3 separate regions of the Homo sapiens genome follow, and regions 1 and 3 are each linked to region 2. The links are contacts of gene promoters, found by promoter capture Hi-C in human tissues and cell types (Jung and others, 2019). All regions are on one chromosome and are shown on one strand. Each heading gives the region's core, a stretch centred on a gene start or on the middle of the fragment in contact. The rest is flanking DNA. Distances are from core to core; before and after follow the strand shown.

Region 1 (2,700 bases), core at 113-2,612, 62 kb before region 2:
CATCTGTTTGTATTAGGTGAGTATTTTTCTGGTTGCTGTTCTATTATTATCATTCAGCAAGTGTTTATTGAACATTTGCTAAGTGCCAGGCACTGTCCTAGGCATTTGAGTATATGGGTGAACAAAATAAAGAAACGTGTCCTCTTGGGGCTTGCATTCTAGCAAAAGAAAACAGACAATATGTAATTTTCTCAGTCAGATGCAGTGACTCACACCTGTGATCCCAACACTTTGGGAAGCCAAGGTGAGAGGATCGCTTGAAGCCAGGAGTTCGAGACCAGCCTGGGCAACATAGTGAGACCTTGTTTTCAAAAACAAAAAAAAAATAAAAAAATTAGCTGAGTGTGGTGGTGTGCACCTGTAGTCCCAGCTACTCGTGAGGCTAATGTGGGAGAGTCACTTTAGCCCATGAGGACAAGGCTGCAGCGAGCTCTGGGTGACAGAGTGAGACCAATTATTATTGTCTCAAAAGATTATAATAATTTTCTCAATTAATCTTGTTGGAGAAATTTCAGATGCTTCATGTAGAAACTGAAGACCTGGCCTTAAAACGGGGCCCTGGGCTCTAGCTTGACAGCTGCTGATTGCTTGAGAGTTGTGATGTCTCGGCTTTGAATTTTGCCATGTGCCAGCTGTTTTAATACACGTTTCTCATCTTCCCAGCTCTGCAAAGCTGGTGCATTAGTTTCCTGAGGCTGCTATAACAAGTGACCACAAAGTGGCATCTTTAACAATAGGCATTTATTCTCTCACAGTTACCGAGGCCGGAAGTTCAAAATCAGGATCACTGGGCAGAAAGCAAGGTGTCAGCTGGGCTGTTCTTCCTCCAGGGGCTCTAGGGGAGAATCTCTTCCAGTGTTGGAGGCTGCCAGTATTCCTTGGCTTGTGGCTGCATCACTCCAGTCTTCAAGGACAGCATCTTCAGATCACCCTCTGCTCCATCTTCATGTCACCTCCTCCTCTGTGTGTCTTTGTAAAATATCTCTCTGCCACTCTCTTATAAGGGACAGTGGTGATTGCATTTAAGGTCCTCCCAGATGCTCCAGGATAATCTGCCCATCTCAATATCCTTAACTGAGTCACATCTGCAAAGAATCATTTTTATTTTGCCCTATAAGGTAGCACTCACAAGTTCCAGGCATTGAGACGTGAATATCTTTTAGGGGTCCATTCTCAGCCTACCACAGCCAGGTATCACAATTCTCCTTTTCTAGTGGGGTTAAGTCACCTATTCAGTGTCCCACCATGAGGACATGGCACACCTGGGGTTCAAACCCTGGTCTTTTCATGTTCTTTCCACCATACGACACTGCACTCCCATACTAGGTGCACACTCTGCAGATGAGCAAACTAAAGCTCTGTGAGCTGACACGATTGGGCCAAGGTCATGGGTGACCGCAGCCTTTCCATGTCTTGCGTCCTTTACCAGGTGGCCAAATTAGAGTCCGTCTGATGCATCCTCCCCCAGGCCTGTGCACCCTGAGCTGGCACCAGGCCTCCAGTTGCCACCAGAAAAATGACAACAGAAGGGGTGGCCGGGAACTCCCGTCTGTCTCTGCATTTACCAGCTTTTAACTTTCAAACCAAGTCAGCCTCAAGGCTAATTTTCTGCAGCTTCCAGTCGTTCAGCTCCATCAATTGTGCCTGACACTGTGAAAGCTTTTGCTATTGATTCTGGGCTATGTTAACTTTCTTTCTCCCTCTCCCCACCCCCAGCCCCAGCCTCAGCTCTCCTGCAGTTTTTGGTCCACCAATTAGGTATTGCCGGGGACAATGTGGGGTGGCTGCTGCTGCCTTTCAATTACCGTCACAGTAAATACAACTTACTCTCCACCCCCGGAGTCCCTGCTGCACTCAGAAAGAGAGAACACTGCCTAAATGACTCCTCTCTCCGGCCTGACACTCCACAACTCTAGCGGATCAATAAGTCTATCACCCCGTGGGGCTCCCTTGAGACCACCCAGCCTTGTTAATTGGCTCTGGGAGATGGCTGGTTGGCAGAGGAGTGTGAGTGTGTGAGTGCGGATGTGTGAGTGTGTGTGTAAATGTGGATGGGGGAGGTGGCTTCTCCGCTCCCCATCCCCCTCCTAGGGATGGGAGAGCCCCTTCAACATGGATTAGGTGGGGAGGATCTCTGACTCTGGAAAACAGCCTTTGAATTGCAGGGATGGCAATATGTGATTCCTCCAGATTTAAATGGTCACAAAGCAAAGAGATAAATGGAAGTGTTTCAAGGTCGTAGTGGGTAAGCCCTTGATTCTGAAGTCAGGTTGACTTCAGTTCTAATCCTGGCTCTTTCCCTAATTTGCTGTATGGTCTTGGGCAAGCCACTTAGCCTTTCTAAGCTGCTGTCTATGAAACAAGCATCATGTCTCCAGTCCCAGAAGACTGTTTTGAGGGTTAAATGGAAGAATGGATGTCAAATGGCACATCAGTAAGTGACAGTGATGACTGAGGTCCTTGGAGTTCTAGGGTGGTGGGGTGGGTCGGGCAGGTCTTGATGTCAGGCAGACAGGAGCACAGATCCTGGACCTGCCACTTACGAAGCCACATGATCTCGAGCAAGTCATTTTCTGTGTCTCAGTTTCCTCTTCTAGAAAATGGGGGAATAACACCATTGTATGTGGCTGAATAGTGTCTCCCCCAAATCCTTGTGAACCTGGAACTTCAAATGTGACCTTATTTGGAAATAGTGTCTTT
Region 2 (2,700 bases), core at 97-2,596:
GATCCAGGCGGACCTGTGGGGCTGAAGCAGGGGTGAGCGGGATATGGAAGAAATTGGTCCCGGCCACCGGCTGCACATGGGGCTCCCGGCTGCTTCTGCCTAAGCCAGGCAGGGCGCCCGGGTCTGGGCAGGGTGGAGCGGGGAGCCGGAAGCCATCTGGCTGCAGCTGCAGCTCTGGGTTCTCCGCTATCTGCAGAAGGCTCTCCTTCCGGCTGAAGCCTCGGGTGGAGGGCCACGGCCCTGTCTGCGGGGAGGCGGCTCTTTCGGCTGCACCCTTTGTGTCACCGGCTTGGCCTCCCGAGGCAGCCCCTGTTCCCAGGGACCCTGGCGGTGGCCTAGGGGATGGAACCTCAGTCAGGGCTGCTGTCCTGGGAGCCAGCCTGCCCTGGAAGATGGCCTGAGAGGTAGATTCCACATAGTAGTCGTACACCTTGCCCTTGAGCCGGGGCTCAACCCCCTCCGCCTTCTGTATGAAATGCTCCTCCATTCGGACGCGGGCTATGGATGAGAAGGTATAGGAGGAGTTGGGGGCGCCCTCCTGCTGATGCAGGGTCAGGTCAACATCGGAGGCAGCCTCGAGAGCCCCAGCCTCTTCTCTGCTGACCCCTATCACACGGGTGAAGACCCAGCTCTGGTTCATGTCACTGCTGCCTTGCAAGGGAGCCACGTAGTGACAGTGGGGAGGTTCTAGTTGCCCCAGTCCTGGATGCTCACGGGGTTTACTGTCCTGCCATGGAGAAGGCTCACCACCGGCACAGCTGCCGTCGGCTGCTGCAATGAGTCCAGCTGGGGAGCTCTTCGGTTCGCTGCCCAAGCGGGGGAAATGGGGAGGGTCAGGGTTACTGCCAACAGCTGTTCTGGTTTCCTGGCTGGGGCAGCAAGGAGGCACCTGCTCAGAGTCCGAGCCCTGCCCGCCCCGCTCCTCACCTGAGCCTTTTCTCTGGGGCTTCCTGTCTGTGGAAGTGGCCCCCGTGACCAGGACATAGGGGCCTCTTGGATTCTCACAGCTGCAGCCCTGTGGTGCTTCAGCCCGCTTGCTGCTCCTCCGACGTCTTGGCCCCCTCAGGAGCACCCCAGGAGAAGCCTCCTGTACAGCAGGCTGCCCTGAGCCCTCTGCTTCCTCCTTGGCTTCTGCCTGGCCATTCCCACCCCACCGCTGGGCTGGGGCAGGCCTCGACTTGTACAGCCTGTAGGCCACAGTCACCAGGAGCAGGGCAGCGGCTGACAGCACCACCTTGCCGGTCAGCTGCATATCCAAATGCCAGTCCTGGGCCTCTGCTCCTCTGGGGAACATGCTTCTCCAGCCAACCTGGGGCTGAGGAATGTCAAGAATCTGATTAATAATTGCCCAGTAGGGACCAGTTCCTGGGTCCTGCTGAGCGGAGGGGAGGGAGTTCTGGGCTGGTTCTGGCTGGCCAGCCGAGGAGAGGAGAGGAGCAAAGGTGACTTTGAGCTGCAGAGGGTGGCCGCTGGGGCCCAGAGCTGGCAGATCCCAGCGGCTGGCCTCCTTCCATGCTTCCCTGGTGGCTGGGGTGGGGGGCCCGCCCAGGGGCTGAGCTTGTGATCAGCCACCTAAGCCAGCTCTGTGGTCAGCAGCTAGGGGATGTTAGGAGTATCCAGTGGGCATACAAAAGAGGAGGAAGCTCTTAACCAAACAGTCACCCGATGCCAGGAAATGCATGGGGTTGGTTATTCTTTATGTGTGTGCTTTATTTTCTCTTTTGCAAGTCCACTGGGCTCAGAGGCTTGGGTGTGGTGAGTCATGGGCAGGTGGAGCCCCAGTAGGCGTGGATGGGGTCATTCTTGTGAGGTCTGCTGGTCCTCACAGTGGGGTCAACTTTATGCTGGCCAAGCAGGGAACGGGAACATGGCAGTGGAGTCTGGAGCCAGGGCATGCAGCCAAGCCACCTGAGCCGGCCCTTGAGTGCCTCTGCCCTCCTTCCCTGCCTGACAAGTTTATTAAGAAAAACCAGCCTTTCTGAGAACAGTGGAGAAAGACATTGCATTAGTGCTCAGATCGGGGTTAGATGTGGACACATCTTCTCTTTTAAAACCAGACAATCTCCTACGGTGAAAGATTGAGGGAAGACTCACGTCTCCCAGACCCCCCCTCACCATTTCCCCTCCCCCATCACCAGTGCTGTGGGTCCTGGACCCAGACTACCTGGCTCTGCTACTTACCAACTATATGACCTTAGGCAAGAGACCTCACCGCTCTGTGCTTTGTCTGAAAAAGGAGGATGACAGCATACGCACCTCATCAGCTTGTGGGGAGAACTAAATGGGCTACTAGGAATAAACACTGGGGCAGAGCCCCCATCATGAAAGCTTAGTAAATATGAACTATTCTCTGCTTCTTCCTCCTTTTCCTCTTTCTGATCATCGGCACCATCATCGCTAGTATCAATTGTCATCAGAGGACCTTCCAAAGCACAGAACTAATTCTACCCTTCTCCTGACCAAGGTCCTCAAAGAGTCCCCAAAGTCCTGTGCAGGGGTCTCAAACTCTTGCTGCATATGGAGGCTGGGTAGGTAAAGTGAACAAGTAAGGACGTCTGTCCGCCCCACCCCAGCCGATGGTATCAGGCCCAGCATTGCCTCATCCTCCCACTGTCGCAAAAAGCTTAGAATCCCAGTAGTGACATAATCACTCTCAATTTTAAAATGTTGGCATCTGATTCAAAAATGAAACTGAAAAAC
Region 3 (2,700 bases), core at 39-2,538, 53 kb after region 2:
TTTATCACAAGGTCAGGAATCCTGTAAGGGAACTGTGTAGACAAGATACCAGGTCGATATTTTCCCAAGCCTATTGGCTTTAAAAAGTCAACCTTAATCCCTCAAAGCAGTCTGTTCATATTTGAAAATATGATATTCAGTCAAAACTTTAGTAAGATAACCAGTGTTTCCAACATGTCCTATTATGTAAGAAAATAGATCCTTATTGAATTTATGGAGGTAACTATATTGCCAAAAAATAAGGATATTTATAATTCCTGAATTCTGGAGAAATCAGGTAGAGAGGAGGGTAAATGTTTCAATTTTGTTCACAAAAGTATATTTTACACAATTGCTATATGCTATAAATAGCTCAAAAGAAAAAAAAGAATTTCTTGACTCTAGAAAACAAAACACAAAAAGGATCCGCAATATTTCAAACCAAAGCCATAAGAATGATTTTAATTCTCTATCAGTTCAATCCAATGTAATTAATTCTAGTTTTGCTTGATCTTGAATTAGGAATCTTCATGAACTCATCAGGTTTTGTTTTTCTTTTTACTACAGTTCTGGAAGTTTTTATCTAGTCCAATAGTATAATCTCCAAAGTTATTGGAAACCTGTATTCAAGATTACTTGTCAGAGTCCTTTCCATGAATTGCCTTGAAGACTCAACACTTTAGGATCTGCCAAGTGCTTTTAGAAAATAAAGCATCAAACTAAAGCAATTTACTGCCTATACTAAGACATACCACAAATGTCATGCAATTTTTGAACACATATTAAACCAATTTATGCCTAGTGTTCCATTACTGGAACACTAAGCACATGGGTTATTTATATCATACTGCTCAAGGTCATCACCAAGGTCTGATTGCAAAAATTCAAAAAATTGCAACCTCAGGCATAAATGGGTTAATAACATATCCATAAAAGTAGAACTCAAAAAAAGTCAAATCCCATTTCTTATTTGACAATAATTCCGGTGTGATTTTAACATACCAAATAAGCCTAGTATGTTTCTCTTGGACTTCCAGTGACCCTATATGGAATATCCAAATTAGTTTGGGGTCAAAAAGTCTAAATTTTAGGATTTAAGATTTGATTTGGGGAAGCATGTTAAATATCAAGGGTTTAACACACTTGATATCAAAATGAGAAAAGTTTAAAACACTTGATCAAAACAGGATCATAGATCACTGTTAAAAAAAGGTAATTTATTTAGCCAAGTGATAATTCGAATATTTCAAAAAGCAAAAATGTTGCTCTTTGATAGAGAGGAGACTCAGTTTTCCAAACAATCAAAACACCTAATAAAGACATTATGACAACAACAGAATCTGTCTCTCCCTCTCTCCCCTTCTGTACTTTTTTGCAGATTATTCAAAAGGCGAACAAAAATCTTTTACCTCTTATTAATACTACATGAAAATCTTGTTCAAAAGAGAAAATCAGGCTGGTCACAGTGGCTCTATCTGTAATCCCAAGACTTTGGGAGGCCGAGGCAGGAGGGTTGCTTGAGGCCAGAAGTTTGAGACCAGCCTGGGAAACATAGTGAGAACTTGTCTCTACAAAAAATTTTAAAAATTAGCCAAGCATGGTGGCTCATGTCTGTAGTTCTAGGTACTTGAGAGGCTGAGGCAGGAGGATTAATTGAGCCCAGGGTGTCAAAACTGCAGTGAGCTCTAATTGTGCCACTGTACTCCAGCCTGGATGACAAAGTGAGCTCCTGTTTCTAAAAAGAGAGAGGGAGAGACAGAATCAAATTCTGCCCTTGTATCAGTGTATTATTAATACTAAAGCTAATTTTTAAAAAACCTTATTAATATATCCATCCAATCTCAATCAGCATTGACCACGCAAGATTTCTATAAACTTTTTATAAACTCCTACAATTTTTCTCTTTTTCTTTTCCAAGCATTTCATATCCATTCAGTTTTATCTATCATTTTAAAAATTCCTTCAATTTAAAACAACATGTAAATAGCCTCTAAACTAGGCAAAACTACTTTCCCTTTAACAAAAACCACATTCTCATGTTTTTATAATCCTTTTTTAAATGAAAAACACATTCTACTTTTATTATATACTTTGCATATAGAATTGCTTCTCTTACAGCTAGTAGTTTTAATTATATATATATATATTAATTACAATGTTAACTCTTAGTAACTGTAATTTTTAGTGAAAAACCTAGGAAGTAAGCATTTTGAGTTGTTATATACCAGACTTGGAGCCTAGGACAGAGGACAGAGCTGTGAAGACCATGTCTAAGGGATTAGATCCTTCCAGGCATGACCAAGAGGCACAGCTGGGGCAGAGAGGATGCGGTCCAGGCTGTGGGGACACACATATGTCCCCAGTCCTCACCATGGCCACTTGTGTAGACCCCAGAATCCAAAGGGTCAAAATCAAAGCATAAGCTCATAAACAAATCAAACAAATACAAAAATATCATAGAAGTCACAGTTATATGACCCTAAAACATCCCATAAAGACAGTATAAATTGGTCTGACCAGTACACCCAGGCAAAAATGTCTTAAATTCTAAAAACATTATATTTTATTTTACCAACAATTTTAAAACTAGTGTTATTCATGAAAGATAACTAACATCATATGAATTTGAAAAGCATTTGGGATTATTAATTTATGAGTATTCATTTATTTATAAGTCAATTTGGTACCAGGTAGACAATATACAAATACAGATATGTACAA

Evidence for each region. Contacts are between HindIII fragments. The study calls those that stand out against the background at their distance.
Region 1: a contact is called between a fragment that was not itself captured here and the fragment with the promoter of KLHDC7A in region 2, in 1 of the 25 tissues and cell types used here (H1 embryonic stem cells).
Region 3: a fragment that was not itself captured here is called in contact with the fragment with the promoter of KLHDC7A in region 2 in 3 of the 25 tissues and cell types used here (H1 embryonic stem cells, bladder and neural progenitor cells).

Annotation. Positions count from the first base shown.
Region 1 is chr1:18,541,764-18,544,463 of GRCh38, reverse strand. No RefSeq gene overlaps it. Among named protein-coding and RNA genes, the nearest start is that of KLHDC7A, 62 kb to the right of the region's middle. The HindIII fragment of the contact is 9,649 bases long and covers 1-2,700 here.
Region 2 is chr1:18,479,576-18,482,275 of GRCh38, reverse strand. KLHDC7A (kelch domain containing 7A) reads right to left here and starts at 1,346. Exons shown (of 1, transcript NM_152375.3): 1 at 1-1,346. The coding sequence starts at 1,294. RefSeq lists enhancers at 524-1,395, 1,396-2,268. The HindIII fragment of the contact is 16,937 bases long and covers 1-2,700 here.
Region 3 is chr1:18,426,566-18,429,265 of GRCh38, reverse strand. No RefSeq gene overlaps it. Among named protein-coding and RNA genes, the nearest start is that of KLHDC7A, 53 kb to the left of the region's middle. The HindIII fragment of the contact is 8,650 bases long and covers 1-2,700 here.